Linked DNA regions of Homo sapiens: region 2 is linked to region 1. Evidence: promoter capture Hi-C in human tissues and cell types (Jung and others, 2019). All regions are on one chromosome and are shown on one strand. The core of a region is centred on a gene start or on the middle of the fragment in contact, and the rest is flanking DNA. Distances in the headings are between cores, read along the strand shown.

Evidence for each region. The method cuts DNA at HindIII sites, captures the fragments that hold promoters and counts their contacts. A contact is called where the count stands out against the background at its distance.
Region 2: a fragment that was not itself captured here is called in contact with the fragment with the promoter of ADAMTSL5 in region 1 in 2 of the 25 tissues and cell types used here (dorsolateral prefrontal cortex and mesendoderm cells).

What each region holds. Positions count from the first base shown.
Region 1 is chr19:1,511,583-1,514,801 of GRCh38, forward strand. It overlaps ADAMTSL5 (ADAMTS like 5), which reads right to left and starts at 1,437. Exons shown (of 12, transcript NM_213604.3): 1 at 1,381-1,437. RefSeq lists silencers at 1,262-1,631, 2,471-2,550. The HindIII fragment of the contact is 17,964 bases long and covers 1-3,219 here.
Region 2 is chr19:1,605,596-1,608,814 of GRCh38, forward strand. No RefSeq gene overlaps it. Among named protein-coding and RNA genes, the nearest start is that of UQCR11, 1.7 kb to the left of the region's middle. RefSeq lists enhancers at 58-367, 823-1,444, 2,927-2,976, 3,007-3,076. The HindIII fragment of the contact is 3,073 bases long and covers 227-3,219 here.

The DNA.
Region 1 (3,219 bases), core at 187-2,686:
CTGGGGCCCCCTCCCCGCCCTCCCCACCATCACTGCTTCTACCTTTCCGTGTGGCCTGAGGCCAGCCACTCCACTCTCCCAGGCCTCAGTTTCCCCATCTGTGCAGTGGGGGCCAAGTGGACTCAGTCCATGATTCTGTGACACCCTGCGGAAGGTGCGGCCGGCAGGGGCTGGATCAGGAGTTGGGTCCCTAGAAGAGGCCCTCAGCTGCACCCCGGCCCCAGGGCTCCCTCAGCTCCCAGACAGCAGGGAGTCCCCCGGATTGGGGATGGGACAGGGAGGGGGTGACCTGGCCCAGGTCCGTTCGGTGCCTCATGGCCTCATCGGCGGAGGGGGTGGGACTGAGCTCCGGGGCAGCCCGTGGAGGGAAGGGGCCACTGCTGAGGCTGGAGCAGGGAAGGGGAGGAGGCTGACTGCCTCTCTGGGCCTTAGTTTCTCCATCCTGTCAGGGCAGGGATGAAGTCACTTGCCATCCACACCCTCCTCATGACCCCAGCCTGCAGGGGGAAAGAGGGGGGAAGGGAAGCAGCCGCCAAGTGAGCCAGGGCGTCCTGCTGCCAGCAGAGCCTGAAGGCAGGTGGGTGAGCCCCGGCCCGGGCACCAGCTGGGGAAGAGGCTGGGTCCCACCTGGACCCTGTTTCCCTGGCTCCAGCATTTGGACTTCTGAGGCACCAAGGGTCTAGGGTCCTGGGTATCTCTAGGTACTGAGACAGCTGTGTGGTCTGCTGCATCCGTGCCCCTCTCTGAGCCTAGAGCCTGGGCTGGCCCAGGAAGCAGGAAGAAGTCTGCACCAGAAACTTAAAACAAGGGGAGGGGGGCCAGGTGCGGTGGCTCACGCCTGTAATCCCAGCACTTTGGGAGGCCAAGACAGGCGGATCACCTGAGGTCAGAAGTTTGGGACCAGCCTGACCAACATGGTAAAACCCCATCTGTACTAAAACACAAAAATTAGCCCGGTGTGGTGGTGCACACCTGTAATCCCAGCTACTTGGGAGGCTAAGGCAGGAGAATCGCTTGAACCCAGGAGGCGGAGGTTGCAGTGAGCCGAGATGGGGCCAATGCACTCCAGCCTGGGCGACATAGTGAGACTCAGTCTCAAAAACAACCAACCAACCAAAAAAAACAGGGGGAGGGGGCTTGACCTTCTGACCACCCCCACCGGACTCTAAGCCTGGTTTGAGGAGTGGGGGTCTAGGTGGTGAAAAGTGGGGGGCTACAAGGACCACCCTACCCCCTCCTCAATGGGCCCTGCCCAGAATCAAGGCTCTCCCCTCCCCGTGTGGGCTGCAGCCCGGACTGGCGGAGGGATCTCAAGGCAAGCCGCACCTCTGGGCCTCAGTTTCCCCCGGAGAAAGTGGGAGGATAGGCAGATGGACTTACCGGCTGCGCGGAGCCCAGGCAGCGCGTCCCGGCTCCCTGAGCGGCCCCAGGGCGAGCGGAAGCGGCGGGGCCCAAGGTGCTGGGCGGGGTGGGGAGCCTGGGACGGTCCCTCCCACCGCGGCCTCCGCAGGCGCGCCCAGGCCCGGGTCAGGAGGGGCGGCGGCCCCGGGCGCCCTCGCGCGGCGGGCGCGGATCTGCGGCAGGGGACTGCCCGGCGGACGCGAGCGCAGGGGTCCCGGAGCCGCAGGCTGGTGTCGGGCGCCCGGGTCCGGGTGACCTTGGCAGGCTCGGGCGGGGGCGCGGCGCGGGGACTGACCGCCCTCCTCTGCCCCGGGGCTGCTATTCCGGGCGCCGCGCTCAGGGCCCGGGAATGTGCGCGAACCGAGGTCACCCCGCCCTGGGTCTGGGAGTCCCGGGCGCTGCCCCTACCCCGCCGACGCCCGGATTGCGTCCCACCGGCGTCCCCATCCCCGGTCACAGCCCCCTCCCCTGGTCCTGCCCCTCACCCCTCTCGCGGGGGGTCGACCTGCTCGTGGATGGGGACCCTGGCGCGCCTGGGCTCCCATCCGGGGGTTCCCCGACCCAGGTCCCGGTCACCCCCAGCGCAGGGCCCCAGCGCACTGGGGAGAGGCTCGGCCCCGTGGGCCGCGCGCGGGGGGCGGAGAGACCCTCCCAGCTGGCGCATTCCCGGGCGCTGCTGTCACCAGGGGACGCGCCCCACCCCGCCTCCCGCCCTCCCTGCCGGGCCCCGGGGCTGCCAGCGGGGCTTCAGAGCCAGACCCGGGTCCAGGCGGTCCCTCTCCCTCACAGCCGCGGCCACACCCTCTCCGGCCTCAGTTTCCCCATCCCAGCAGTGGGCCCGGCAGGGATCTCCACCGCGAACCTTCCATCTGGAATCCGGCTCTGCGCGGACCGGCAACGCGAGGGGGCACCCCGGGACTCCCCCCACCCCACCCTTTCCCGCCGGGCGTCTGTGAGCCGCCCCGTGCCCACCCACGCAGGGATGAGACCAGGCCCTGGGTTCTGGGCTCCACCAGTTTCTGGTGTCGCCCCACGGCGCCCCCTGGCGGGCGGGCTGAGGGACTGGGGCACTAAAGGAGGGGGTGGAGGGACTGTCCTGCTCCCTGGGCTCCACCCAGGCTCGGTCTGAGCACCCCCTCCTCCAGGAAGCCCACCCTGCTGTCCCACAGCGCTGACCACAGGGAGAGAGGTTTGCTGGGGACATACAGGGTGTTGCTGGTCCAACTCAGTCTGCCCTCCAGCCTGTAGCATGTCAGCAGAGCCACCCATATGCCATTTATTGAGCACCTACTGTGTGCACAGCTGTGAACAACCCAGCCAGTCCCAGGCCAGCGGGTAAGGCAGCCCCCTGGAATGTATGACCCCCCACCTTCTGACCTGGACTATTGGAGAAAATAGCCCAGGCCCACCACTGATGGCCCCAGGTTGGGGGGTGGTGGTTGCGGGGATGTCAAGAAGGCCCTCACTGAAGGGGTCAAGAGAGAAGGGCAGGCCGGGCGCGGCGCCTCATGCCTGGAATCCCAGCACTGTGGGAGGCCGAGGCAGGCGGATCACCTGAGGTCAGGAGTTTGAAGCCAGCTTGGACAACATGGTGAAACCCAGTATCTACTAAAAATATAAAACTTAGCCAGGCATGGCGGTGAGTGCCTGTAATCCCAGCTACTCGGAAGACTGAGGCACGAGAATCGCTTAAACCCGGGAGGCAGAGGTGGCAGTGAGCCGAGATCACGCCACTGCACTCCAGCCTGGGAGACAGGCGAGACTCCGTCTCAAAAAAAAAAAAAAAAAAAAAAAAGGAAAGAAAGAAAGAAAGAAGTC
Region 2 (3,219 bases), core at 513-3,012, 94 kb after region 1:
GCGGAGAAGTGGTCCGGAGTGGGCGGCGTTAGGGCGGTGCTTTCTGGCCACGTGGTCTGGCGGCCGATTGTGCTTCTGGGCTCCGCGGGGCTACCTGCCAGTGATTTTGTGCGCCTAGTATGTGCCAGAACGTTATTTACAATGAAGGAAACTGAGGTCCAGCGGGGAAGGGTCTTGCTCAGAGTCACACAGAGGGGAAGAGCTGGGATTGGAGCCCACTTTTGGAGGCGTCAGGCGTTGTTCCTGATTCGCTGTAGGACTTTGGTCGAGCGGCAGTGCTTCCCTGAGCCTCAGCGTTGCCCGTTGCTTGGAGGCCCTGTCGGAAATCTCTTTGCAGGATTCCGTTTGCGAGCCTGGGTTATTCCTCATTCCGGCAGCAGAGGGTGGCCTGGCTCCTTGCTCGGTGAACGTCTCTGGATGCTCTTAGCTGATGACAGGCAGGTCTTTCTGCCTCCTGCTTTCCACCGCACCAGGCTCGCTTGGGCTCGCCTTTCTCCAGTCCCTGCTTCCTCTGCTCTCCCACAACCCGGCGCAGCACCGTACATGCTCACTCAGCTCCCAGCTTCCAGCCTCCCCCCTGCACACCGGGCCGGTGTGGGCAGAAGGAAGAGGGGCATATTCCCAGACACCGCCATTGCACTTTTGTGCCTTTTCCCCCATATTCAAGAGTTGCCTCCCTCAGGAAGCCCTCCTGGACTGCCTGACCCACAGGCACCTTTACAGCATGAACGGAAAGGCCATAGCCTAGACGGGGCACTGGGCGTGATTTGTCTCTCGGGCGCCAGCGTCACTTGCAGGCCTCGTGATAAGGAATGGACACCGTGGGTTCTTCTGCCCAGCCTGGCCTGTCCTCCTGGGGTCAGCCCCTCAGTACACCCCAAGCCTGCAGCTCTCTGGGGACTGCGGGTGCTAACCCATCCCTATCCCTGGTTAAGGACTCAGGGTGGGAGCCGGAAATAGGTTTTGGACACCACAGTCTGGGCACTGTTTTTCTTTCTTTTTTTTTTTGAGACGGAGTCTCGCTCTGTGGCCCAGGCTGGAGTGCAATGACACGATCTCGGCTCACTGCAACCTCCGCTTCCCGGGTTCAAGCTTCTCCTGCCTCAGCCTCCCAAGTAGCTGGGACTACAGGCGTGAGCCACCACACCTGGCTAGTTTTTGTATTTTTAGTAGAGATGGGGTTTGGCCATGTTGGCCAGGCTTGTCTTGAATTCCTGACCTCAAGTGATCCGCCTCCCAAAATGCTGGGATTACAGGTGTAAGCCACCGGGCCCGGCCCTGGGCATTGTTTGTAGAACTTTCCAGTTGGCTTGGGGTTTTTGAGCTTGGGATCAGAGAGCACCTGAATAAGACTCTTCCCATTGGTGGAAACTTAAAAAAGTGGGATGCAGGGGCTGACACAGAGACTATTAAGAGAAAGGACAGGAACACAAGGGCTGCTGGAATGTCAGCCCAGAGTTTCCAGATGCCACAATGTAAGAGTTCACCAGTGGCCGGGCACGGTGGCTCACGCCTATAATCCCAGCACTTTGGGAGGTTGAGGCGGGCAGATCACCTGAGACTGGGAGTTCGAGACCAGCGTGACCAACATGGAGAAACCCCATCTCTACTAAAAATACAAAATTAACCGGACATGGTGACGGATGCCTGTAATTCCAGCTACTCGGGAGGCTGAGGCAGGAAAATTGCTTGAAAACCCGGGAGGCAGAGGTTGCGGTGAGCCGAGATCACGCCATTGCACTGCAGCCTGGGCAACAAGAGTGAAACTCCGTCTCAAAACAAACAGACAAAAAAAAGAGTTCATCAGAGACAGTGACATAAACAAGAGCTGAGAGATGGAGAGAGATTTGTAATGACACCTGGATCCAGCTGTGCCTGAAGCCATTCAACATGACATAGAACTTCCTTTTTGTTTCTTGAGCCGGTTTTTGTTATTTTGTTGGACCATCTGGATGTCCCCTCCACCCTTTTTTTTTGAAACGGAGTCTTGCTGTCGCCCAGGCTGCAGGCTGGAGTGTAGTGGTATGATCTTGGCTCACTGCAAGCTCCGCCTCCCAGGTTCACGCCATTCTCCTGCCTCAGCCTACCGAGTAGCTGGGACTACAGGTGCCCGCCACCACGCCTGGCTAATTTTTTGTATTTTTAGTAGAGATGGGGTTTCACCGTTAGCCAGGATGGTCTCGATCTCCTGACCTCGTGATCCGCCCGCCTTGGCCTCCCAAAGTGCTGGGATTACAGGCATGAGCCACTGCACCTGGCCCACCCTTTTTTTTTGACAGGTTCTGGCTCTGTTGCCCAGGCTGGAGTGCAGTGGTGCAATCACAGTTCACTGCCACCTCAAGCGATCCTCCCACCTGAACCTCCTAAGTAGCTGGGACTACAAGTGTGTGTCACCAGGTACAACCAATTTAATTTTGATTTTTTGAGACAGTCTCGCTCTGTCGCCCAGGCTAGAGTGCAGTGGTGCAATCTCAGCTCACTGCAATCCCTGCCTCCTGGGTTCAAGCTATTCTCCTGCCTCAGCCTCCCAAATAGCTGGGATTACAGGCTTGCGCCACCATGCCCGGCTAATTTTTGTATTTTTAGTAGAGATGGGATTTCGCCATGTTGGCCAGGCCGGTCTCGAACTCCTGACCTCAAGTGATCCACCCGCCACAGCCTCCCAAAGTGCTGGGATGACAGGCGTTAGCCACCGCGCCCGGCCAATGTATATTTTAAAAGTTGTTTTCCAGCATGAATTTAGAGGCCAGCTGGGTAGAGTGGTGGACAGGGCTCCCTCAGCACCTTCTGTCAACTCCTGGCCACTCTCTTTCCCTTAAAAATTATAGACATGGGGTCTCACTATGTTGCCCAGGCTGGACTGGAACTCCTGGCCTCAGGCGATCCTCCCGCCTCAGCCACCTGAAGTGCTGGGATTACAGATATGAGTCACTGTGCTGAGCCTTCTCCTCCCTAAGGCACTTGTGTGCCAAAGGGCTCTCTCCTGGGGGCCACCCCCCGTCAAGTGGCCAGGAAGGCACTCCTTCCACCCCAACCCTGTAGGGGAGCAGGGCAGTCCAGCTGTGTCCTCGCAGAGATGCAGCGGCCAAGTCCCTGGGCACAGCAGCAGATGCCTGCCAGTGGGCACTTTGGGATGAGCAGCGCCCCCACAGGTCCTGCCACACCCCTTCCCCCCGAGAGCTCTGTCCGTGGGTTCCGTGGGCATCCGGTTGTGGAGGA